Regions from separate parts of the Homo sapiens genome. Here all the other regions are linked to region 5. The links are contacts of gene promoters, found by promoter capture Hi-C in blood cells and fetal thymus (Javierre and others, 2016). All regions are on one chromosome and are shown on one strand. Each heading gives the region's core, a stretch centred on a gene start or on the middle of the fragment in contact. The rest is flanking DNA. Distances are from core to core; before and after follow the strand shown. Region 1 holds the start of ARHGAP10 (Rho GTPase activating protein 10). Region 2 overlaps ARHGAP10 (Rho GTPase activating protein 10). Region 3 overlaps TMEM184C-DT (TMEM184C divergent transcript). Region 4 overlaps PRMT9 (protein arginine methyltransferase 9). Region 5 holds the start of OTUD4 (OTU deubiquitinase 4). Region 6 overlaps TMEM184C (transmembrane protein 184C).

Region 1 (4,327 bases), core at 305-2,804, 2.6 Mb after region 5:
GAGGATGGACATTAGAGTAATAATGTTTATCTGTGGGTTAGGCACTCCTGGTGCTGTTTTGTAACAAAAGGGCTTATTGAGTAGGAGGCTTATTTAACTTGTTCGGGAGGGTTACCCTCCTACAACATGCTGTCCAAACAGATTCTTAATTACCCAGCTGAGAGTCTGAACGTCTTGAGGAATTACTTTGAAGTTTCTCGTTAATATTACCATCATATCATGTAAGTCTATATCGCGAGTTTGTAGATGTATGGAGTTCCTAGTGGGTGCCCGGCACATAATAATTGCTTAATAAATTGCGATTATGAAACGTTACTCTAATGAACTATTAGTGTTTTTTTTTAAGAAATACTTTTTTTTTTTTTTGAGACATTGTCTCGCTCTGTCGCCCAGGCTGGAGTGCAGTGGCACCATCACGACTCACTGCAACCTCCGCCTCCTGGGTTCAAGCGATTCTCCTGCCTCAGCTGGGACTACAGGCACGTGCCACCGCACCCGGGTACTTTTTGTATTTTAAGTAGAGACGGGGTTTCACCATGTTAGCCAGCTGGTCTCCAACTCCTGACCTCAGGTGATCTACCCGCCTCCGTCTCCCAAAGTGTTGGGATTACAGGCGTGAGCCACCACGTCCGGCCTAAGGTATACATTTTAATACTTTAAAATGCCTAACTTTTTTTGGGACACACTGGAGTTGTTTCATAACACACAAAATAGGCTTTTTGAGGGCACTGACATAAATTCTCATTGATCGTCACCCCCACGCGGTGAAAACCACACGTTACCTGGCATGTTTTCCGGTAGTTATTTTTAGAATAATAAAGATCGTCTTCACCTACCCCAGCAAATTTAATGTGCTGAACACAACAGAAACAACTTTTCTGTGGTTTAGCCAGCCCTCTCTCTTCAACTAAGTTATTTAGTGCGGATACGCAGAGAAGTGTAATAGGAGCTGCTGGGCCACCAAGAAAACGCTCTTGCCATTGTAAGGCTTCGATCTCAAGCGGAGATTTACCACGCATCTCACTTTAAACTGGGAAAGGAACCGGGATAAGGAAAAGAGCCCCCTGTGCGAGTTCGTTCCCAGCTCGGGGTTGGGGGCGTCCCAGGATAAATGAGATAAATGAGTTAATCATCTCCTGCAAGGCAGCCACTTCAGAGTTATGTCGCCCGCCTGCGGGGACTAACGACTGCAATTAAGACGCTCCTTCTCGGTCCCGGTCGGGTTCCGTGCAGCGGGGAGCCGACTGTGAGTCACCCCGGCCCCGGGAGCCCAAGCAAAGGGGAGGGGAGAGCGCCCAGGGTGGAGGGGAGCCGCGGGGCGAAATTCTAGCCCCAGGACGCCTCGGAAGGAAGAGGAGGGGCAGCTGCGCGTGGGGAAGAGAAGGAAGAGGCGTCCAGGGAAGGGAAGGGAGGAAGAAGGAAGGCGGAGGAAAGAGAAGGGGACGAGCGGGAGCGCGGGCCCGGCCGGGTGGCGCCTCGGGGAGTGTCTGCCGCGCGGGGGCCGGGCGGGGCGGGGCCGCGGGCGCTCAGAGCTCGGCGGGGGCTGCCGGGATTGGGGCGCCGCAGCTAGCGCTGGTCTCGGTGGCAGCTCCTCCGCGCCGCAGGACTCGGCTCTACGGGACATGTCCGTGCCGCGCTCGCCGCGCGCCCGGGCCTGCTAGCTCCTCTGTGCTCCCTGAACGCGCGGCGCCGCACCTGGCAGCGGCCTCGGAGCTCGGCTCGGGCAGGAGCGCGCGGCCGTGCGCACCGCGCAGCGACCGCTGCCGTCATGGGGCTGCAGCCCCTGGAGTTCAGCGACTGCTACCTCGACAGCCCGTGGTTCCGGGAGAGGATCCGCGCTCACGAAGCGGAACTCGAGAGGACCAACAAGTTCATCAAAGAGCTCATTAAGGACGGGAAGAACCTCATCGCTGCGACGAAAAGTAAGCGGGGACGCGGGCGCGGACGGGCTGCGGCGTGGCGAGGCGGCTGGGGGAGCCTCTCTCGGCAGGAGACGGAGGGTCTTGTGTCCGGGGCCAGCAGCCAGAGGAACGGGGAATTCATTCCGGACCAGCCCAGCTCTCTCGGAACCCCGGGGGGTCCCTGGAATCATTCCTCCTCGAGGCAGCGCGGCGAGTCCCCATTCCCGCCCCTGCGGCTCTGCGGCGGCGGGAACCAGCTGCCAGCGGGCCCCGCCTGGGCCCCGCCTGGCCCCGGCCGAACACCCCTCGCTGAATGCGCGCTCCGCTGGACCGACCCTAGGCACTCCTGGCCCGGAGTCAGGTTTCATTGCTGCCTAAAGCTACTCACAATCTCTTACAAAACCGAGGCATCTGTTTGCCTAGTTTTGTTTTGTGACTTCTCAAAAGAAATTTCTTGGGGATTCTTTGAAACCCTGCGGGAGTGTTGAGTTTTCCAGAGTCCCCTTAAGCTTCACCTTTTCCCTCTCATTGTCTGATCTTCCCCGACAGTCCTGTTCCAGGTCCTTCACGTGCCAAACCAGAAAGTCCACCTGGCTTTATGCTGCTTCCGCACATTCCTCCCCTGCCGTGCTGAGGAGGGTTCAAAGATTGGGGTTTGGAAGGGTGAGCGGACAGCCTGCCCTCTAGCCTAGGCGGGCACTGCTTGCAAATAGGGAATTCCACCCCGGTTAGGCTTGGTGCCTTCCTCCCCTGAACTTCTGTCTCTTAAACTCGGAAGAAGACACGAGATACAGGAGAGATAACTGTATTTTAGTGTAGTTGAGGAGAGTCTTTCTAGGAGAGAAGGGGCCAAAATTCATGCAGAAATACTGAGTTAGTGATGCTACTGGAAAATGGGGCGGAATTAGCCCCAGTGAGGAGCTGGGCAGCCTGACCATCCCTTGGATCCATAACCCCTTCGGAGGATGGCGGTGAATGTCCCCTTTCCCCCTTTAAAAGACCTGTCCATACAGCAGACAGGGACTTGGGCAGTATCCAGCCTTGAGGGGCTGGGTTCTTAGGGCCTTCATCACTCACCTAGATTCTCAGTTCAGTAATTCTCAGCCTTAGGTATTCGTCCCTTGTACATTTGTTTGTAGATACCACCTCTGGGGAAAATCCCCCATCTCACTGTTCTCCCGACCGCGCCCCGCCCCATTTTTCAGTAAGGGCGATTAAAACATATTGATTATACTGTCTCGGGCACCCAGCATGGTGCCTGGTACAGTAAATATGCATTTAATGAATAAGTTGAAGTACATTTCTGTGGGAAGAATTTAGTGAGCCATCCCTGTAATTTTGGAGGCAAGTCACTCAACTTCTCTGGATGATCTCCAAGGTTCCTTTTGGTTCTCTGACCTCTTTGGTGTTGCAAAATCAGGACTGGGACTCACTTAGGGTTTTTTTGTTTTGTTTTTAAGTCTCTGCTGCTTGAATCAGAAATGGGACTCTGGGACATGTGACAAGTGGGCTTATTTGGTTGAGGGCTCTCCAGGCCCTTGGCATCTGGTATGTGTGTTGGGTGGGAAGTAGGGGGGCGCCTATACATATGGAGGAGTGAGCATAGAAAGGAGGAGTTGGGAGCGGGGGTGCAGAGTGAACACGAGAGAATGAGGACTGAGGACTCTTTCTGTAACTTGATGTTAACCAGAGTCAGTGGCCGGGAGAATGTACCTTCTCTCTCATTGGTTGTAGTAGTTCCCTCTGGAGCTAGAGAGGTGTGGAGAGAGGCAGAGGGCAAAGCCAGTTTGGCCACTGGTAGAAAGCTATTTCTGTGACAGCATATTAGCTTTCCTGCCATCAGGACACATGCGTTAGGTTCCAGCAGCAGCCAGTGCATCTGGGGGGCCAGATGTCAGCTTTCCTCCAGACTGTAGACTTTCTTGAATTTGTGAATTAGTATCTTACTCATTTTGATTCTCGTCCTTTAGCATAAGAAACATAACTTGTAATCATGCTTTGAGAGTAATTGGGAAGTGTCTTTTTTTCTCGTTATGTTCATTAAGAATTTATGTTTAAATTCTTTCCCAGAAGGTGACAGGAACACAGCTGTAGCTCACATGCCTTTTCCCGCTTGCTCCATAAAGTTTACTTCTAGTTCCTATCAAAGACTAAGAGCCTTGGACTAAAGTCAGGGGACCTGAATTTAATTCTTCTTCACTGGTTAGGGCGTGGCTATAGGAAAATTGAGCAGGTCTTATTCTTTTGCGTCCAACTTCCCCTGTCTACCTCTTAGGGGAACTAATAAGGTTCTGCAGCATTTGAAAATGGCTTGATGAGGTTATTTGAAACTGCAGTCTAGGTAAATGGTTCATCTAACCAGTTGAGCTTTTGTATAACATCAGAGAGTCAAGGGATGACATTGGGTGGAGGATCTACAGAAAGAA
Region 2 (4,486 bases), core at 517-3,016, 2.6 Mb after region 5:
TGTTTAAACATTTAAGTGCTTAAAAATGGGGGCAAATTTTCTTGTCTTTTTTTTTTTTTTTGGCAGGGAATCTTGCTCTGTCACCCAGACTGGAGTGCAGTGGTGCCATCTCTGTTCACTGCAGCCTCCGCCTCCTGGGTTCAAGCGATTCTTCTTCCTCAGACTCCCAAGTAGCTGGGATTACAGGCACACACTACTATACCTGGCTAATTTTGTATTTTTAGTGGAGACAGGGTTTCACCATGTTGGCCAGGCTGGTTTTGAACTCCTGACTTCAAGTGATCTGCCTGCCTCGGCCTCCCAAAGTGCTGGGATTACAGGTGTGAGCCACTGCGTCCAGCCTTCATTCAGCATATGAAAATTAAAAAAACATAAAAAAGGGCAGAAATGAATTATGCAGCATGATTTCATTATTGCTCTCAGGAACTGGATAATGCTTTAAGGTAGGACTAATCTGTTTCAATGATGAGACATTTTCTCACTATACATAGCAGTTCTGGTCATTAGTGAAATTACTCAGTAAATGTTGAAGAAGAAGGAAAAATGAAGGTATCCATCATGATCCTAATTACCACCAATGAAGGTAATTAGGGAAATTACTCAGTAAATGTTGTTGAGGAAGAAGGAAAAATGAAGGTATCCATCCATAACTCAAGATGATCCCCTATTTAGAGAATAAGTATACATTCTACAGGCATCTAAGGTTTTCATGTTTCTCTGTTCTGTTTGGTTTTAATGGTATAATATACATTAAAAATTGTGCATCAAGGATTTTATTTCAGGTATGTGCTGCATTGCTTCTCTTTATGTAATAAATTCCTTGTTAACTGACATTGTTTCCCGGGGATTTCCGTATGTTAACAAGTTCTTTCTACAGAGATGATTAATACTTACGGTGATCACCCTGAGGTTCCACAAAACCCTCTTGAATCATCAGAGATGACATTCTACTCATTGTAACTTTAATGCCATGTATTTATTGTCTTTTAATTGTTTTGAAAGTTGGGCATCTGTTTGAGATATTTTTTTCTTTTGGTTATAATGACCCGTTTCCTGAACTTTTCAGATAAGAAACTATAGGATACTATCATGGAACCTGTTTTCTCCTGTACCCTGGTTTTAAAACCAGTGGCTGGAATTAAGACATGTGTTGAGGGAGGAAAAGGGAAAAGAGAGGAGCCTGAAGGGACTGCCACTTTTCTCTAGCAGTGGAATAAGGAGTACTTCATTGAGCTAAGAATAATTAATGTGGAGTGTTGAAAGATCATTCTGTATTTTATGCACATGTTCCAGATAACAGCATAAGGACCTATGAAAAGCAAGAAAAAAGTTTTCTGGGGCTGTCATCTTTGATCACATAGAGATGGAGTGTGTGTTCATACACCAGCCATTCCTGTCCGTCCTTGCCACCACTGACTTAGACCAGGTGACACATGGGCCTTAGTATGAATGTTGTAATTGGAGAATCTGCCTCAATTTTGAGCTCAACTCCAGTCTGTAGACTTGCTGATACAGTAGTATTTGTCTATCACAGCACTTAGAAATGATAGCCTGTGGTCAGGTGCCAGTGGTTCACGCCTGTCTGTAATCCCAGCACTTTGGGAGGATCATTGGAGGTCAGGAGTTAGACACCAGCCTGGCCAACATGGTGAAACCCTGTCTCTACTAAAAATGGAAAAATTAGCTGGGCATGGTGGTGGGCGCCTGTAATCCCAGCTACTTGGGAGGCTGAGGCATGAGAATTGCTTGAACCCGGGAGGCGGAGATTGCAGTGAGCTGAGATTGTGCTACTGCACTCCAGCCTGGGCAATAGAGCGAGACTTGATCTCAAAGAAATGGTAGCCTGTATCACATTGTTTTATGGCTATATCTCTGTATCCTGTATTTAACTTATAGTCATGTGGTGTTATGAAAAAAAGTAATCAGTATATATTGAGCACTTCTTTGTACCAAGCTAAGTAATTTGGAAAGACTTGTTTGTATTTTGACCTGGATTCAGATTCCACCTCTGCTACATACTGGCTTCATGACCTCAGTCAAGTTACTTAGCCCATCTGAGCTTCGGTGTTTGTTTTTTTCTGTATGACAGTTGTATGATTCTGCTAGGACAGCCATAGCCGAGTACCACAGACTGGGCAGCTTAAATAGCAGTCTTATTTTCTAGTAATTCTGGAGGCTAGAAGTCTGAGATCAAGGTGTTGGCAGGATTGGTTTCCTCTGAGGCACCTCTCCTTGGCTTGTAGGTGGCTCTTGTCACATGGTCTTACCTCTGTGCCTGTATCTTTGTCCTAATCTTCTTTTCTTTTAAGGAGACCAGTAATACTGGATTAGGGCCCACCCTAATGACCTCATTTTAACTTAATTACCTCCTTAAAGACCCTATGTTCCCTGTAATCCTAGCACTTTGGGAGGCCCAGGTTGGAAGATCACTTAAGCCCAGGAGTTTGAGACCAGCCTGGGCAACAAGGCGAGACCCCTGTCTCTGTTTAAACAGAAAAAAAGAATCCCGTGTCTGAATACAGTCACATTCTGGGGGGTAAGGAATTCAACATGAGTACTTGAGGGACATGTCCAGCCGCCTGTAACAGCAGTGAAAATGACATGTGCTCAAGTGGGTTTATTTTACTTTTTAATTTTTGTGGGTACACAGTAGGTATATATATTTGTGGGTTATCTGTAATATTTTGATACAGGCATGCAATGTGTAATAATTACATCAGGGTAAATAGGGTATCTATCACCTGAGGCATTTTTGTTGTTGTTCTTGCAAACAAATATACTCTTTTATTTTAAAATGTATGATTATTTTTGACTATAGTCACCCTGTTGTGCCAGCAAATACTAGGTGGCACAATTTTTTTGTACCCATTCAAGTGTTGTGTTGTTGTGAGGATTAAATGAAATAGTATATGCATGTGAGCTTAGTGCATGCATAATGTTAGCTTTCTCCTTGCTAGAGCGGGGTAGAATCTTGTTTTCTTTATATTCTATCCAAGTATAAACAGTAAATAAATGTCAGTGAAATTGTGTTTTAAGTATGTAGGTGCCCCTTTTCATAATTCTCATCTTCCTCGCCTCCACTCTTGCAACTAAATTAGTATTTTTTTCTTTTCTTGAGATGGAGTCTTGCCTTGTCACCAGGCTGTAGTGCAGTGGTGCTATCTCGGCTCACTGCAACCTCCACCTCCCAGGTTCTAGCGATTTTCCTGCCTCAGCCTCCTGAATAGCTGGGACAACAGGCGTGCGCCACCACGCCCAGCTAATTTTTGTATTTTTAGTAGAGGTTGGGTTTCACCATGTTGGGCAGGATGGTCTTGATCTCTTGACCTCGGGATCTGCCCTCCTCGGCCTCCTAAAGTGCTGGGATTACAGGCGTGAGCAACCGCGCCAGGCCCTAAATGAGTAATTTAATGCTAATTTAAGGGGATCTCTCCTGAGAAGTTCTCTCTACTTCTGCTCTCTGCGCACTGGGACGTGCCATCTCCACCTTTAAACTGCGCTAGGCCCTTGTTCCCTTCCCAGTTGGCAGGATTATCTGAGACTTCTCTAGATAAGAGCAGTGGACTTCAGCTCCCTCTCCCTAGGTTCCGTGTTTCCACCTGGCGGTAGTGTGTATCTGCCAGTTGACACTTTACATCACACAGTTTGTGATTTTTAGGTCTGCTCTGCCTTTCTCCTCTCTCCTCTCTGCAGTTTTTTATCTTTTTTTTAAGCCACAGTTCTACAGACAGATGGGAAGTTTAGAGCAAGGTAGGATAGGCGAGTGAGAAAGCAACATGAGAAAAATGAGTATAGGCTTATTGACTTAATGTTCTAGCTCAGACTTGTACCACAGGCCTGTGCCTTGTGGCGAGTGAACTGTAATTCCTCTGAGGATGTCTCTCTTGAATGTTTGACAAGGCATTAGCAATCATCTGTCGCCCAGGGAATTCCAAACAAAAACAGATGAGTTTAAAATCCTAGGGTATAAACGGCCACAGAATTGTTTAACTTGTTGACTTCTAGGGGAAAATATGTATTCTACAAATGTTATTACAGAGTTTTTACAGGCATTTTTATTATTAATGATGGGAAGCTTCCTGGAGCATTCTCTTAAGTCTAGTGGGGTTACTAAATGTAGTTTTCCAACTGGAGCTTGGTTTCCTGAAAGCTATTCTTGGTGGGGTGGATGAGTGCAGCTGTCGTATCTCTTAGTATTTCAGTTTGAGTCATTGGGTGGGCGGAACTGATTAGAATTCCAAAAGCAATACATATAGGAGTTAGGTGGAACTCTTTTGGAATTAAGTAGGAAAGATTTTGACGGAACTCCTGCATTCCAGAGTTCAGTGGTAAAAAGAACACTTTATGTACAGAGTATTTGGGTAAATGTCTTCTGCATTTTGCTTTAGTTTTTTCTTTGTTGGTAGAAGGGACACTTTATATTAAGAAGCTGTTACAATGTATTGTCAAGATAGAGTTATTTGAAAATATTTAAAAATAGCAGATT
Region 3 (4,110 bases), core at 396-2,895, 2.4 Mb after region 5:
CAAGAGTTCAAGGCCAGCCTGGTCAACATGGTGAAACCCCATTTCTACTAAAAAATTACAAAAATTACCCAGGTGTGGTGGTACATGCCTGTAGTCCCAGCTACTTGGGAGGCTGAGAGAGGAGAATGCTTGAACTCAGGAGGCAGAGGTTGCAATGAGCTGAGATCATGCCACTGCACTCCAACTTGGTCAACACAGCAAGACCCTGTCTCAAAAAAAAAAAAAAAAAAAGAATTGTCTTCGAATGCTTATCAGTGTATGTAGAAAAGTCTAAATTTAGCATAGGAAAAGGAGCTCTGGATATTAATACACAATATACAAAACTGAGACCTGTGGAATGATTGAAAATTGAAGACTTATTTTTTTTAACATCACCAGTGTGGTAAGCAGGATAATGACCATCCTCCCCCAAAAGATGTCCATGTCCCAATTCCAGAAACTGTGCATATGTTACCTCACAGAGCAGAAAGGGATTTTGTAGACATGGTTAAAGTTAAGAACCTTGAGATTAAGACATTGACCAGGCACAGTGGCTTACATCTGTAATCCCAGCACTTTGGGAGACTGAGGCAGGAGGATTGCTTGAGCCCAGGAGTTTGAGACCAGCCTGAGTAACATAGCAAGACCCATTTGTACAGTCAATCAACCAATAACAAAGAAGAATTGGGGAAAATATCTTGGATCATCTGAGTGCGCTCAATCTAATCACGTGGGTCCTTAGGAGTATAAGATGAAGAAGAAGGGATATTACATGAAAGGGACTCCACTCTCTGTTGCTGGCTTTGAAGGTGGAGGAAGGGGACTGACCATGAACCAAAGAGTGTGGACATTCTCTAGAAGCTATGAATGACCCTCAGCTGACAGCCAGGAAAGAAAGCGGGGCCTCAGTCCTACAACTGCAGGGAACTGAATTCTGCCACTGACTTCAATGAGCAAGGAAATAGGTTCTCCCCTACAACCTCCAGAAAGGAATGCAGCCTGCTGACCCCTTGGTTTTAGCCCTTTTAAATCCATGTTAGACTTCTGACCTCCAGCACTGTAAGATACTAAATATGCATTACTTAAGCCACTAAGTTTGTGTTCATTTGTTCTGGTGACAATGGAAAACAGATGTATCTTATACATCAGATAAGATACTTTTCCCCTTAAATCTTCTTCCCTGGGGACATTGATCACAAAGCGGTATTTCTGAGAATAGAGAGCATTTTAAAAGCTTGGTTCTAGGGCAATTGCCAGATTCTTATATCCTGACCTACACATGGTTCCAGGGAGAGGATGAAGCAAGAAGAGAAAAAACAAAGACCTTGCTCTTCTGTTTCCCTCTCATTTCCCAAACAAGAAAATTGGAAAATGCAAATCATAGAATTTATACTATTGGAGAAAAATATCTAGTTCTACCTCTACATAGTAAGGATACCTCATAAGTAGAGGCACCATTTATGGCCCAAGCCTGATGGACTCTATTCAGAGCTTTGCATGCACAGAACATTCCTTTTACAGTGTGGGAGGAGTTACACAGGCATGCGAACACACACATCCCACCCATAGAAAACCATCTAGAACAGGTGTTCATGAGTTTACACAAGGATGCTCAACAGCCTTAAATACACAAACAAAGTAAAGGTAAAACTCAAACTTCATAGAGACCACTCCTCATGTTCAAAGAAGAAAACTCCTCCACACTAGGACAAAATTCCCCATGAATTCTCTTTACCTTGTGTAAGTCAAAGCCTTCTTTCTATGGGGATCACCACAGGCTAGCATCTAATGGACAAATACAGTGCATAATAATTTTGATTTAAATCCTAAAAGAATTTGTCTCAGTATAAAAATATTTTTCCTTTCTCACATTTTTAATAATACACAGAATCTTCTTCCTAACCAGAAAGACCTTTGCTCCCAAATCTACTGAATTACCTAGTTTTAAATCTGTTAAAGTAATTTAAGTTTTTCTAGTTCCTTTTAACCTGAAACTTGATATTCTAGAAGTATCACTTAAATTGGTCTGAAAATAAAACATCAATGGAGATAAGAAAGAGAAAAAAAAAAGAAACTTCCCCACCAGATAGAGCTACTAGAAAGCTTACTTAGTGAGTAATAATTTATAGAAAAGGTAATTTATTATTTACTATGTTAAGTTGTTTGCACCGTTCAAAGTATCTTCTTCGCTCAGTGACAAAACACCACATATACTTCTAAGGCCTATTGGGTGCTCAAACTGCTTTATCACCTTTCTTGTGAGGAAACTAGACAGCACTATAGTGATTAATCCAGTAATTCTAGTAACACATCTTTAAAGATGAGGGCAAATGTTCTATTCATTTAAATATTTATTTCAGTAGTTTAAACAAAGAACCTTTATAAAGAAAACCCAATATAAAAGTTAATATACTGGGGGAATAAATGTGAATCAAGAATGTAAAATTTAAATCTATAAAGCAGAGGAAGCCATGAGAAACAATTGTTGGGCAAGCCTGAAAATGTGGGGAACAGTATCTGGAATAAAATAAGAAGCAAGGCCAAGGACAAAGGCTAGTCCAGGTCAGAAGCACAGATGGGACTGCAACTCCCAAATCGTGTGCTGAAGAGCGACAGCGTGCTGGAGTGAACTCACAGAAGCACCTTAGGATGTTTTATACTTTTAAAAGAAACACAAAAACATCTGTCAGATCGTATGCGAATGTCTGTAATTAGGTGTTTGGAACTAATTACTTAATAAGTGAAACTATTAGAATTTCTTTGGCTAAGGGACACCATGAAAAAACTAGTGAGATTCTAAGGGCACCATGAAACAAGAAAGTTTGGAAACTTCTGCCTTAGGGACATGCTAGGATTCAAAGGACATTGCCTACTCAGAGTAAAATTAGAGTAGCAGATGAAAAGTGGAAAGGACAGTGCCTCTAGCTTCTGCATACCTAATTATACACAGTGGGGCCTTTTCATAGCTCAATGCTAGCTCTAAAAACTCTTGTGCGCTCTCATTCTAAATTCACTGCAGGAGCCCCTTAAAATCACTGAATCTTGCTTTCAAACCAGCGAATTTCGTTCTTCCTTAATAACAAAAACAAAGCAGTAATTTTTCAGTGTTGGTCTTGGGACCAAACAGAGTTCCTCAAATATTTAGAGAAACTCTACTAAGACTTAAGTATCACCTTCCTCATGAAGAAATGAATGAACTTTATGGAAAGATTCACTCAGCAACTTCATAATAGCCCATTATCAAAATTTTAAAATTTACTCTAAATCAGGGGTTGGTAAACTTTTTCTATAAAAGTTCCATAGTAAATATTTTAAAATATTCTTTTACAACTCTTTAAAAATGTAGAAACCAACTGAAAGCAGGCACTTGAGCAGATATTTGTACACCCATGTTCACAGCAGCATTATTCACAATAGGCAAAGGGTGGAAACCTAGTGTCATATCAATAGATGAATGGATAAACAAAATGTGGCATATACACATAAAGGAATATCATTCAACCTTAAAAAGGAATGAAATTCTGATGTATGATACAACATGGATGAAATTAGAAAACATCAAGCTAAGTGAAATAAGCCAGACACAAAAGGGCAAATATTATATTATTCCATATATGAGTTACCAAGAATAGTCAAATTCATAAAGAGAGAAAGCAGAACAATGGTTACCAGGGCCAGAGGCAAGGGCTAATGGGGAGCTGTTTCATGAGTACACATTTTCTCTTTGGGTGATAAAAAAGTTCTGAGGATGATAGGGGTGATAGTTGCAAAATGTAAATGCAGTTAATGCCACTGAAATACAGTGGTAGGTAAAGTTGAAGCTTAGAAGTGGACAGAAACAGCTTAAAGGTTCAGATTTGAAAGTTTAATTTTACCACTTGTGCTACTTTTATTTTCTTCTGCACTCATTTGGTACACAGTAGACCATTTCCCCTCCCATGTGTTGGAAAGGAGAAAAAAGGAAACATTGGAAAATTAAGCATACTGTAAAGACTCAGATCTCTCCCCTGCATGCTTGCAACCTTTAAATCTAAAACTCACTTAACTCATGGATTAGTTAGCACAATCTCAGACTCTGGAGCCAACCTATCCCTAAAAAAAGAAAAACCTAACGGACTGTATGTAGGCTGC
Region 4 (4,547 bases), core at 1,104-3,603, 2.5 Mb after region 5:
ATTATCACAGGGGAGTACATTTGTCAGGTTAATGATCCATGTTCTTCTTAAAAGTTATTTATAAAACATTATTTCTCCACACTGAAAAAAAAAAGCATAATACTGAGTTGATTGCTCTATTAATTTAATGTCTTAAAACTGTACAGAGTACATACACTGCATTCCCAGAGCCCTAGCCCTGCACAGTCTAGTGAGCCACGCAAGGGCCCCATGGGCACCAGAGACAAAGGTAGCAGATTGATTGTTAAGAACTAATGAACTCGAGATACGTTTAATAAGAGAAATTCTGTGGTCACTTAGGAATTTTGTAGTTCATTATTCATAACATTAAGGTTTTTTTTAGCTGGATGTGATTTGAGGGAAAGAGAAAGCAATTAGTGAGGAAATGCATGAAAATACCTAAAAGGAACATTTAAAATGAGATTAACTAAATTCCTACGAATGTGAGCAATTGTCACTTTCAAACTTGGCAGAACCATGCTGAGTCCCCATCACTCTGAAACGTTCAAACTCAGAAGCAATGTTAACCATTCATTTTATTTCCTGTACTTTCACAGAATTCTTCACGCACATGTACTAGTATGCAGAGTTAACATAGCAGGCCTGACTGCCATCCTTTGAAAGGCCTGATTACAAAACTGTCCCTTGGCTGGCATCTGGGAATTTGGATTTGGGGAGGGTTCTCACTATCCTAACTGATAGTATTCCTAAACTGATTATACAAACAATGTGGTTTATGCTCAACAGCTGACCTGCTTTTCTTCTGGGAATCTAGGATTTTAGTATATGCCAGGCAGAGGGTACCCAAGTGTCCAGCTCCCAGTAGAAACCCTGGGCACTGAGCCTCTAATGAGTTTCCCTGGTTGGCAACATTTCACGTGTACTGTCATAACTCACCGTGGGAATGAAGTGCATCCTGCGTGACTTCACTGAAAAAGGAACTTTGGAGGCTTGCACCTGGTTTTCCTTTACACTTTGCCCCATACACATTTACCCTTTGCAAATTTTGCTTTGTATCCATTCACAGTAATACACAAGAGCCATGACTAGGACTACATGGTGAGGCCTGTGAGCCCTTCCAGCAAATCAGCAAATCTGGGAGTGGTTCCAAGACTCCCAACATGTAAGTTATCAACTTATTGCCAAATTCACCCTTTTTTGCCTGCTCTGTGAAAACTGTATCTGGCCCTTTAATATTCTCCCACCAGTTGGCACAAGGGTAAGCTTTGTTGGTAAAAAGTGCGGAGAGGCCGCGTGCAGTGGCTCAAGTCTGTAATCCCAGTGCTTTGGGAGGCCAAGGCCAGAGGATCGCTTGAGCCCAGGAGTTCCAGACCAGCTTGGGCAACAACATGGCAAAATCCTGTCTCTACAAACAAGACAAAAAATTAGCCAGGTGTGGTGGCATGTACTGCAATTCCAGCTACTGGAGTGCAGGTGGGGGCGCTGCTGAGGTGAGATCACCAGAGCCTGGGAGGTCAAGGTTGCCATGAGCCATGATGGTGCTACTGCACTCCAACCTGAGCGACACAGTGACACACTGTCTCAAAAAAAAAAAAGTGCTGGAGGCCAGGCGCAGTGGCTCACACCTGTAATCCCAGCAGTTTGGGAGGCTGAGGCGGGTGGATCGCTTGAGGTCAGGAGTTCGAGACCAGCCTGGCCAACATGGTGAAACCCTGTCTCTACTAAAAATACAAAAATTACCTGGGTGGGGTGGCAGGCGCCTGTAATGCCAGCTTCTCAGGAGGCTGAGGAACGAGAATCACTTGAACCCAGAAGGTGGAGAGGTTGCAGTGAGCTGAGATCACGCCACTTCACTCCAGCCTGGGCTACAAAGTGAGACTCTGCCCCCAAAAAAAACAGTGCTGGAGAGACACTGTAGCAAGAAAGAGTTTTGCTTCCTGCACAGGGCTTGTCTAGCACCAAGCTCCTGAAATGCATGGCAGCTAGCAGCATCCAAGGGTCAGCAGCTTCCCCAAGGCTTCTTACCCTACTACATGGTTTTGTAATGGAGTACCTCTGATAAGATACTTCCCCATGAGGCTTTCTCTGGCATCCCAAGAGGCAAAACTATACCCAGGTCCAGAAAACAAATTTACAAGAAGTTCCCTGGCAAGGCACTACAGTGACTTTTCTGCCATCCTAAGAATCACAGCTGTGCCCTCTCCAATAAGGGGTGGCACTCAGCCCAGTGAGGGGAACTCTTCCTTGGATATTCTGTCTTACTCCTAAGGGCAGTGGCTATTATGCCGTATATTACAAAATATTAAAACTGCTATGATTATTATATATCTGCTATTCTTTTCAATTCTCCTTAATAATTCTCCATATTAAACTTTCCCTGTTAAAATTACAGTATGATTTATCCCTATCCAGACTAATACAGAATAATTCTTAACAAGTAATACTAAAATCACTACAAACCTGAAGAGATGCTCCCCCATACTATTGCAAATCACTTCATCATCAGGAAACAGTTCCAAGGCCTGCTCATAGCAACCAAGTAAGTCTTGTATCCGACTGAGAGCATCAAGCTCTTCAGCCCATCTGAAAAGTGTGTACTGAAAAGTTTCCTTTACAAATAAGAAAAAAATTATGAATTAGTCAATAACATAAAAGATGAAAGAATATACATCATTAGTTGAAGATTCCAAGCAATCGAACTTAATCACTATTGAACAATCACCTTAAACTTCATTTAACTTTAGTAGGCACTGTTTTCTGAACAAGTGCACAAATGAATGAATTTTACCACCTACATGGCAATAATAAGCAGAATTAGTCTGACCACTCTCTAAACTCCCCCCACTCTTAGCTGCTGTATCACATTCTCCTTATTCTCCAGAACTGCCTCACTTTTGTCGGCTCCTGTGTTTTTGGAGTTTGTCCTTGGCCCTCTTCTTTTTTCACTCATCCATCCCTAACGCATTTATTATCACCCATGTGTTAATGGATGCTACATTTACATCTCTAGTCAAGACCTTCTCTTCTGAACCTCAGACTCATAGATACAGCTTCCTATTAGTCATTTCAACCCGGCAATGGATCTCCAGCCATTGCAAATGTAGTCCAACTCAAATATTTCCTGAACAATCCTTGTGCAAAGAACTGAAGCAACATAAATCTTGTTCTTATCCTCACAGAGGCCCTATAGAGAGAAATTTAATTTTGGAAAAGTTCAAAATGTTCTACACTGAACTCATCATACTCCTCTGACACAGGCTATAAGATTAAGACACCACTCAACCTCAAACCACAAAGTCACCTTATAATGGTACCTTAACTCCACATACACTGTTTCAAACCTAGCCAATGCTCTCTCAATATCTTTAAATCTGTTACCTCCTCTCCATTCCCACAGTTACAACCTAATCTGGCCCTTGTAACCACTTGCTGGACTACAGCAACAGCCTTAACGCTGTCACTCTAATTCCAACTGCATCTCCCTCCATCCATTCTCCATGCTGCAATACTGTGGAAAGAGGGAAAGCTTTAGTCATTAAAACATTTTAAATCATCTTCACATATTTTATACAAAAGCGTTGATATTTGGAACTGAATCTTGAGGGAGTTTACTAGAGAGACAAGGATAAGAAAGGAGATTCTGGCCGGGCACGGTGGCTCATGCCTGTAATCCCAGCCCTTTGGGAGGCCAAGGCAGGCAGATCACCTGAGGTCAGGAGTTGAAGACCAGCATGGCCAACACGGTGAAACCCCATCTCTACTAAAAATATAAAAATTAGCCAAGCACGGTGGCGAACACCTATAATCCCTGCTACTCAGGAGGCTGAGGCAGGAGAATTGCTTGAACCCAGGAGGTGGAGGTTGCAGTGAACCGAGATCGCACCACTGCATTCCAGCCTGCGTGATACAGTGAGACTCTATAAAAAAAAAAAAAACCCCGCACAGATTATATGAAATGGATCAGAGGGTCTACAGATAAGTGGCTTGGTGTGGCCGGAGTTTGGGTATGGGGAATAGAGTAGCAGGCAATGAGCATTTTACAGGGGGCCCATACAAACAAACACAGACTTTGTTCGGCAGGAAACAGACTAGTTGCTTACCCTACTGAATGTCAGGCATTGCACTACAAATTTTAAATATACTTTTTTATTTTTTCTTTTTGAGATGGAGTCATACACTGTCGCCCAGGCTGGAGTGCAATGGCACAATCTGGACTTACTGCAACCTCCGCCTCCCGAGTTCAAGCAATTCTTCTGCGTCAGCCTCCTGAGTAGCTGGGACTACAGGCACATGCCACCACGCCCAGCTAATTTTTTATTTTTATTTTTTTTTCTGAGACAGAGTTTCGCTCTTGTTGCCCAGGCTGGAGCGCAATGGCGTGATCTCGGCTCACCACAACCTCTGCCTCCCAGGTTCAAGCAATTCTCCTGCCTCAGCCTCTCGAGTAGCTGTGATTACAGGCATGCACCACCACGCCCAGCTAATTTTGTACTTTTAGTAGAGACGGGGTTTCTCCATGTTGAGGCTGGTCTCGAACTACTGACCTCAGGTGATCCACCCGTCTCTGCCTCCCAAAGTGCTGGGAT
Region 5 (4,099 bases), core at 195-2,694:
CTTTCTACTACCAACATCAAAACAGGCTTTTTTAAAAAAGTCAGTTCTGTTTAGTATACCTACACAGCCCAGCAGAGCATAATAAAGGGTGGAACCTACTCAAGACAAATCCTTCAAAATATTCTATATTTGTAAAAGGCTGGTTTTCTCAAACGGCAGTTTGCCCATTTGATTCAAGTGACATGGGCGAGCTTGCCTACCCTACATTCCAAAGTCCAGCAGCAAACCAAAATATGTTCCACAAGTAAAGTTTGATCCACCACTTCTAGTAAACACTTGGTTTACTGGAGTGGGGTGAGCGTGGTGCTTCTCAAACGAAGGGAAGGAAGGTGAATGCGGAACAAAAGTAAAAAATATCATGTCGCCAGGTCCCCAGCAATAAATCAACTGTACAAGCTCCGAGCAGGCCTCACAAGTTGTCCTCAACTCATTACCTCTTCATCAGGAGAGAGACACCCCGTTAATTTGCGGGCTTTCGAGTTTCAATTTGCACCTTTCAGACGCAAAGCAGCGTCCCACTCCGGCGTTACAATGGGGCGCTGTGACGACAGCCAGGGCACGCGCAGCCCCGGCCGTGGGCGGCCCGGACAGCCCGCAGCTGCCTCCCCACCCAGACCCGCCGGGCCGTCCCCGCCTCCCCTCGAAGCCCTCCCCGCCCCCCCGCAATTACCTGCTCCGCCACGGCCCGGAACAGGCACGACCCGTCCTTGGCGACCAGTTTCCGATACAAGCCCAGTTTCCGCAGATAGGCGTCCATGGGCGTCGCGTCCTCGCGGGGCCCCGCGCCGCCCTGGTCCCCGCCGTCGGGGACGCCGACGGCAGCCTCCATGTTGCTGGTCCTGCTGCAGGCCAGGCGCGGCGAGGGCTAGCCCCACATGGCCAGGCCGCCGGCTGCTCGACGCCCCGGCCTGGGGCAGGCGGCGGCTCGGGCTGGGGCTCGGGCTCCGCGAGCGGCGGCAGGCGGCGGCGGCCCGAGGCAGCGGTCCGCGCTCTCCGGGCGCATAGGGAAGCCCTGCCTAATGCATGGCTGTCCGCACGCGGCCGCCTCCTCGGAGCGAACACGCGCCCACGACAAACGGGGGGAGCGGGATTAAGGAAAACCCCGAGAGTGAGTAGTCACTTCCCGACGGCCTCGCTGCCTGACTCAGGACCCAGGCCGGGGGTCGCCGCCCCCACAAGTTTCCTCCTCCGTACCGGTGTGAAGCGAGAAAACCCCCGCCCCTGGCGCGCACGCTGGGCCGGCTCAGGTGAAGCGGGGCCTGCGCCCCCGCGCACTCCCCACGCCGGGAGCCGAGGAAACCAAAAAGAAAGACGCGGCCTTTCGTTTCCCCACCTCGCTGGAGGGCGCCGGAGGGGCAGGGAGCGGGTGGGGGCGCCCGGGAGAGAACAGCACCTCGCAGCCCAGAATTTGTTTTCGCTTTCGGCCCGACAGCGGAGAGGACGGCGGGAGATGTAGTCTTGGCAGCCGCAGGAAGTCGGCTTGCGGCGGGCGGGGACGCGCTGGCCGGCCTACCCGGGGGAGGTGCCCGGGAGGCGCGCGGACTACAAGTCCCTACAGCGCGGGCGCGCCGCCGCCACCGCCACCGCCCCAAGCCGGCTTCGCGCTGCACTGGCGCCGCGTCCGCGAGCAGGCCGAGGGGCTCCGCCGGCCGATGTGGGGCGACCTGCGCGCGCCACCCGCCAACCCTGCCGCTGCGCCGCGGGAATCGCGCGCGCCGGGCTGGCGTGGAGTTGCCAGGGACACGGCGGCGCAGTGTCGGCCCTTTGTGTATTTCTTTCCAGAGGGCGCACCTGTCTGCTCCCTTCCCCCCGGCCTGCTCTCCTGGTGTTTCCATGGAGGTGGCTTTAACGGCTTAAGCAGAAAATAGAGCTAATTGGCTGAGGCTCCGGGAACTGGCACGGTGCGGGACGACACACTCTGTCCATAAATCAACCGTGGACTGCTGATTGCTATTAGTAGTACAGCTCACGTACTACGGCAAGATGAAGGCTTTGCCAAAGACATTTTTGTTCACCCTGTCACTGTAGCTGAGCACCCCATCACAGAGACATGTCACTGTCGGAAGACGTTAGGGTTTTTTTTTCCCCCTTAAAAAATTCATCTTGTAAATTGCTTGATAACATGCTGACTGGACTGGCCATGGCTTCCACCAGTGCTCGAGGCTTCAGCTCAACTTCCCACCCTCCGACGTTGAATGGCAGGGAATTGACAAAGTTAAATTATGCTTTAGAACCCAGAATTTATCCAGCATGCTTCTGTTGCACCAAAATTTTATTTTGCTAAGATACAACATCTGGTGTCCTTATTTAAATACATGGTTAATCATAGGAACTAATTCAGTCTTTTAGGCTATGGTGGAGGAGAGGGAGAAGAAAAGGGAGCATTACTATAGGTTTAGACATGTAGTCAAATACCTTGGAATGGGGGGCAAGGCAGGCCAGGTGGTGAGAGTCCAACGACAAAAATTTTTTAAAAACTACGTTAGACACTTTTCAGTATTTTCAGTGCAAGCAATCAGTCATGTATTCACTTTCCTTGGAGCGTCTTTGATTTCTTAATGTTTAAATATTGTATCTCAAATTATGCTGCTTTTAGAGAATACAAACGTTATCGTTACCTAAATGAAAAAATGTCCCTGCCTCAAATTTACTTGTTGTAGCGAAGAAACACTTTGAAATCAGGTTTAGAAAAGTATAGTTTCAGCTGGGCGTGGTGGCTCACGCCTGTAATCCCAGCACTTTGGGAGGCCGAGGCAGCCCGGTCACCTGAGGTCAGGAGTTCGAGACCAGCCTGACCAACATGGAGAAACCCCGTCTCTACTAAAAATACAAAATTAGTCGGGCGTGGTGGCACATGCTACTCGGGAGGCTACTCCCAGCTACTCGGGAGGCTGAGGCAGGAGAATAGCTTGAACCCAGGAGGCAGAGGTTGCGGTGAGCCGAGATCCCAACATTGCATTCCAGCCTGGGCAACAAGAGCGAAACTCCGTCTCAAAAAAAAAAAAAAAAAAACGGAAAAGAAAAATATAGCTTCAAGTCAAACCTGTTGCTTTTCTTTTTAAAATACACTTACATTGCATATACTTCTCATTCTTCTCAAAAAAAAAAAAATTCCTGAGTATTGCCACTACTTAAAACATGGATCGCCCTTGTTTTTGAGTTTAAAAGCTTGCCTTTTAAACTCAAAGAGAAACTCAAAGTAATATCTAAACTCCTGCTGAATGAATGTAGAACAACCTCACTCTAAGCTGGCTGCTTCTGGTTCCAAAATTAGAAGTGATGCACCTGTTATATCTGACCCTGGGCCTGTTTAAGGAAATCCTTTAGGTATTTTGAGACTTAATCCAAGACAGACCCTCTGTATGCCAACTTCCCAAATATAGCTCAGCGTTAAGGCAATATTAGAGGATCCTATGTCTTTAAACTGCACCAAAACTTAGAGAAACTCACTTAACTTTCAAAGGATCTTTGCTTGTTGACATTAACTTCTGAACCTTTTCAAGAAACCAAACCAGAGTTGATGAATGTTTATTCTAAGGAAGCCATTTCTGACTGTGTGAAGAACTCTAAACAGACATCATTTTAATCAAATAATACCTGAAAGATTCAATGCTTTTGAGACCTAATGAAATTATAAAATTAAACTTATGCAAAGGAGTCAACCAACTTTTTTCTTCTTGTGCAAAGTCAATGCCTTAAGTTTGTTTACTCTGACAAACTTTAGGGCTAATAATTGTACTAGATAGAATTTTTTAAATTGTTTTTAAACTTCATAGATTGATAGATTTTATGGAGTTTTGTTTTTTCCAACAATACCTAAGGTTAGGTATTGTAGTAGGCAGCCTCTAAAATGCCCCACTCCCGACCCCCACCAAGTGATTCCCACTTCCTGGTATTCACACTCATATAATCACCTCCACCTTGTAACAGGATTGGTCTGAGTGACCAATAGAATAGAGCAAAAGTAGTGGTATGTCACTTCTGAGATTAGGTTATAAGAGACATTTTTGGCATTTTGATTGGCCTCTCATACTCCCTGTCTCATGGGTCACTCATGCTGGTGGAACCTGGCTGCTATGTGTCAGATTTACAGAGAGGT
Region 6 (4,252 bases), core at 1,457-3,956, 2.5 Mb after region 5:
AGTTCCAGCTACTCAGGAGGCTGAGGTGGGAGGATCACTTGAGCACAGAAGGTCAAGGCTGCAGTAAGCCATGTTCACACCACTGCACTCCACCCTGGGCAACAGAATAAGATCCTATATCTCAAAAAATAAAAAAGGTATTTAGATAATTTGTTTCCTGCCATCCACATTCTTCTGCCACTGCTATTAAGGATGACTACATTGAAAGAATTAACTGTAAATATGGTATCATTCATCAAAGTGATTTTAATTTGGAGGCTTTGGGGAAAATCTGATGCTATTTAAATGAGTAGTTGAAATTCTAAGTTCTTTTTCTTTTGCAGAGTATTGCTGTTTAGGTGCAAACTAGGTGTATTACAGTACACAGTTGTCAGACCTTTCACCACCATCGTTGCTTTGTAAGTACTCGGATTTTATATGAACTTTTTTTTTCATCCTTGTGATCTTATGTGGGAACAACTAAGTAGAAAACATAGTGTTAATGTGCTTATTTATAATGCAGGTCTAGTCTGTTGTAAAAAAAAACACTGTATAGAAACTCACTCTATTAAAATAAATAACATGACCATTTATAGGCAAAGAGTCACCACAGGGGTCTCCTAAATATTCACATCCTCTCCAGAGCTAGCTGGCCGTAAAGCACTTTGAAAAAAAAATACCTTCTTTTTCAGATACATAGCTTGACAGAAACCCTATTGCATGAAGTTAAAGTATGCTACTTTAGGTTAATTACAGTTCTATTTTCTACATAGTTAATTTAGAATATATTAGAAGTACTCTAAGAAAGAAGTCATATTTTCTTTTAATATATTCTATCAAGGCTTAGAATTGAGGTAAAATGGGGTATCATTAAGCTACCTGGCAAAACTATTCCCTAAAAATTCAAGAACATCAAATACTTTAATGCCAATAGATTACATGTTTTATCTCCTAGTTGTTACTAACATTTTGCATGCTCACAGAGGAAAAGTGGAAAGAAAGACTTGTGAAAGAATTCTTTATTCTGCCTTTGAGCTAGCAATTATTTAGCCATTTAATTATGAAGGCATGCTTTATTTCCCTGCAGCTTAGAAATTGGGTAAGATTATAACAATACTGATGGTCATACTTACTTGAGGGGATCTGGGTCTTCATAAAATTTACCTCCAAGACAATTGAGGGGAAAAAATTAACAACTACAGTTATATACACCTGCATTATATTATGTTTAACAATCAAGCTTTCCCAAAATTAGACAGCATAGTTGTTTTTTTTTAAATTTAGTACTCTTTCTAGTTAAGTGTTATGTGTCTTATTTGGGATTTCCTTCAAGTTGAAGGAATATAGTAATATTTCTAGAAAAAAATGGGTTTTTCATTTTTGAACCACCTCTAGATCCAAAGTCAAGTGATTGTCAATGGATCTCTCAAATAAACTGACTTCTAAATTCTCTGTGTCCAAAGTCAAGTGATTGTCAGTGAGATCTCAAATAAACTGACTTCTAAATTTAAGTATTGCTATTGCTGTATTTTGAAGTACGATTTTGATTTAATCAGAGATATCTCATTTTTACTATTTTTAGAATCTGTGAGCTGCTTGGTATATATGACGAAGGGAACTTTAGCTTTTCAAATGCTTGGACTTATTTGGTTATAATAAACAACATGTCACAGTTGGTAAGTAAAATGTTCACTTTTCTTAAACTGTACTAAATTCGTATCTATAACTAAATTTCTTTAGACAAAGTTTCTTCTTAGGATAAGGCTTGCTTCTTTTTAATCTTCCTATAAATTAAATCTGAAATTTAATTTATAGAAAGACTTGAAAAAAATTTAATATATATCTTAATACATATATAAAGATATAATAACATCTTTGTTTATTATTTGGCAACTTATACCCTCACATGTTGACCATGTTTGTTCATTTATTTCTGTTGCTCATTGCATAGCTGTATGAGTATGTCATAAATAAAAGCACAGTGCTACATAAAAAAAAAAATACACACACACGCCCACATATACTGAACATATTCAGAAGAGAAAATATCAAATTGGTATTTGATGGTACAGGGTTTGAATAAAAATGTGAGAATAAAATTCTCTGTTATCATATATTTGAAGTTAAAGGAAAATTGAGAATGCCAAGTTTAAAAAAATGGATGATGTTCTAGAAACTGTATGTTCCAAAGACCTATGATGTAATGTCCTATTTGATCTTACAAGCTTAAAAAAATGTGCATTTTATTTAAATTCTTTGACTAATGCTGTCAGCAAAATAATTTAGATGCAGTGGTATGCATGGTTGGTATTAGAGCTTTATAATAAAAATTAAATGTCCATGTAGCTAAAGTTTTCCCACATGTTCATCCTCTTTGGAACCAGTAATTCTGTTTCTGGGAATGTATTCTAAAGAAGTGTTCAAAAGTATGTTTGCCTAAAGTATCTTTGTATATAAAGCCCATTACTTGTAAATAACAAAAGGCTGAAAGCAATCCAAAACCCAATGTTAGGGACTAGTTGAATGCACTGTGGTCTTTCCATTGGCCAAAATATTAGGCAGTTACTAAAAATAAGCCTGATGAAACATATAGAAGTTATGTATTTTAAGTGGAAAAAACATTAGGCAATAAAATTTTATAATTAGTTCATGACAGTTATTTAAAAACTGGCTTATGTGTAAAAAGGATGATTGGACACCATGAATCACTTTATTCTTTCTTTCTTTACTGGTTTCATATTCTAAAATACTTTGAATTTGCATTTTATATGATTTTAATAGGGAATAGTGAACTTTCAGGAAAATGTTTATTGTTATTCAGCACTACACTAGGTTATTACAGATTTCTAAAAAGTTAGTAAGTCTTGTTCATTTTAAAAAATAAATCTAGCTGAACTAATACACCGCTCTCAGGAAAAATTGTTTGATTCTTTACATTCAGATTTCATAGTCACAATTTTATTGAAATTGTACTTGTTTAATGGGTTACTTTAGTTACATAGGATAGACTAGGTAATAAGCTAAAGCCTCATAAAATGAGTGGTCAGAAATTTATGTTTAAAAGCCGTTACAGATGGATTTTTTTATTTTGGCTGAACAAGAGCCATTTCTTCCATTTATGTCAATCATTTGTTTATTGTTCCCTTTATGGAACCCAGGAAGTGAACACTTAAAAACATTTTTACGGAAGATGTTGTATGTAGTATATATTCATCTATAGTAAACTATGAAAGCTTGTTAATCTAAAAATAGAATAATAAAGCCTAGAAAAGTTTGCCTGAAACATTACTCTGTACCAGGTCTCTGGTATGTAACTTTAATATTTCTATTACCATATCTATTACTGAACAAGTTTAAATGTTAATCTTGTTTCTAGTTTGCCATGTATTGTCTCCTGCTCTTTTATAAAGTACTAAAAGAAGAACTGAGCCCAATCCAACCTGTTGGCAAATTTCTTTGTGTAAAGCTGGTGGTTTTTGTTTCTTTTTGGTAAGTGTTACTTTTTTTTAAATGTTCTCATTTTTTTAAGGGCAGTAAAAACCGTTGATTAAGGAGGATTTTTAAACAGTCTTAATGCGGAAGATAGATTAAAATGTCTCTACTTCTCTTTTTAAAAGTTCATCTTTTTAGCCCTTCTACAATTTTCAAAAGAAATAATTAGATGGTCGCTGTAACATTTATATGAAGAAAATAGTTTGAGACAACCTAAATATGTCAATACTAGAATAATTATTAAAATAAATCATGGCCCTGTCATATAATAGAATACTATGGAGTTTGGAAGAAAGCATGATGTAGAATATTTAATTATATGGGAAAATAATCAGTAAATCTTTTTAAAACAGAAGGTAAAACTATACATAGTTCAATATAGTAAAGAGGGCCGGGCACAGTGGCTCACGCCTGTAATCCCAGCACTTTGGGAGGCCAAGACAGGTGGATCACCTGAGGTTGGGAGTTCCAGACTAGCCTGGCCAACATGGCTAGTCTCTACTAAAAATACAAAAATCAGCCAGGCATGGTAGCAGGCACCTGTAATCCAAGCTACTTGGCAGGGAAGGCAGGAGAATTACCTGAACCCAGAAGGCAGAGGTTGCGGTGAGCCAAAATCATGCCACTGCACTCCAGCCTGGGCACCAGAGTGAAACTCTGTCTCAAAAAAAAAAAAAAAAAGAATTTAGTAAAGAGGTGGGTAATAGGGGTCCTAGAAACAAATACACCAAATTTAACAAGCTAGAAACAATACAAAAAGGGAAAAAGAAAAATCCCTGAA

The links. Contacts are between HindIII fragments. The CHiCAGO score rates a contact against its expected background, and 5 or more counts as called.
Region 1: a contact is called between the fragment with the promoter of ARHGAP10 here and the fragment with the promoter of OTUD4 in region 5, in 3 of 17 cell types (M0 macrophages, M2 macrophages and M1 macrophages). The highest score is 7.0, in M0 macrophages.
Region 2: a contact is called between a fragment that was not itself captured here and the fragment with the promoter of OTUD4 in region 5, in 1 of 17 cell types (M2 macrophages). The highest score is 7.1, in M2 macrophages.
Region 3: a fragment that was not itself captured here is called in contact with the fragment with the promoter of OTUD4 in region 5 in 3 of 17 cell types (total B cells, total CD4 T cells and non-activated CD4 T cells); the score reaches 7.4 in total B cells.
Region 4: a contact is called between a fragment that was not itself captured here and the fragment with the promoter of OTUD4 in region 5, in 1 of 17 cell types (total CD4 T cells). The highest score is 6.5, in total CD4 T cells.
Region 6: a fragment that was not itself captured here is called in contact with the fragment with the promoter of OTUD4 in region 5 in 3 of 17 cell types (M2 macrophages, non-activated CD4 T cells and total CD4 T cells); the score reaches 7.7 in M2 macrophages.

The regions. Positions count from the first base shown.
Region 1 is chr4:147,730,534-147,734,860 of GRCh38, forward strand. It overlaps ARHGAP10 (Rho GTPase activating protein 10), which reads left to right and starts at 1,555. Exons shown (of 23, transcript NM_024605.4): 1 at 1,555-1,922. The coding sequence starts at 1,769. RefSeq lists enhancers at 1,166-2,058, 2,059-2,951, 2,272-2,341, 3,470-3,599 and silencers at 1,252-1,771, 2,082-2,161. The HindIII fragment of the contact is 2,455 bases long and covers 1-2,408 here.
Region 2 is chr4:147,768,696-147,773,181 of GRCh38, forward strand. The region is part of intron 1 of ARHGAP10 (Rho GTPase activating protein 10); the gene reads left to right. Among named protein-coding and RNA genes, the nearest start is that of MIR4799, 12 kb to the right of the region's middle. The HindIII fragment of the contact is 4,613 bases long and covers 1-4,073 here.
Region 3 is chr4:147,609,757-147,613,866 of GRCh38, forward strand. TMEM184C-DT (TMEM184C divergent transcript) reads right to left here. Exons shown (of 2, transcript NR_186679.1): 2 at 1-205. Among named protein-coding and RNA genes, the nearest start is that of TMEM184C-DT, 5.4 kb to the right of the region's middle. The HindIII fragment of the contact is 869 bases long and covers 1,212-2,080 here.
Region 4 is chr4:147,677,902-147,682,448 of GRCh38, forward strand. It overlaps PRMT9 (protein arginine methyltransferase 9), which reads right to left. Exons shown (of 12, transcript NM_138364.4): 2 at 2,422-2,570. Among named protein-coding and RNA genes, the nearest start is that of PRMT9, 4.0 kb to the right of the region's middle. The HindIII fragment of the contact is 2,263 bases long and covers 1,223-3,485 here.
Region 5 is chr4:145,179,145-145,183,243 of GRCh38, forward strand. OTUD4 (OTU deubiquitinase 4) reads right to left here and starts at 1,445. Exons shown (of 21, transcript NM_001366057.1): 1 at 671-1,445. The coding sequence starts at 829. LOC124900794 (a long non-coding RNA gene) reads left to right here and starts at 3,049. Exons shown (of 2, transcript XR_007058294.1): 1 at 3,049-4,099. RefSeq lists enhancers at 547-1,376, 1,377-2,206 and silencers at 552-1,011, 1,132-1,361, 1,452-1,851. The HindIII fragment of the contact is 3,984 bases long and covers 1-3,166 here.
Region 6 is chr4:147,628,038-147,632,289 of GRCh38, forward strand. It overlaps TMEM184C (transmembrane protein 184C), which reads left to right. Exons shown (of 10, transcript NM_018241.3): 5 at 324-398; 6 at 1,562-1,655; 7 at 3,356-3,468. Among named protein-coding and RNA genes, the nearest start is that of TMEM184C, 13 kb to the left of the region's middle. The HindIII fragment of the contact is 1,008 bases long and covers 2,203-3,210 here.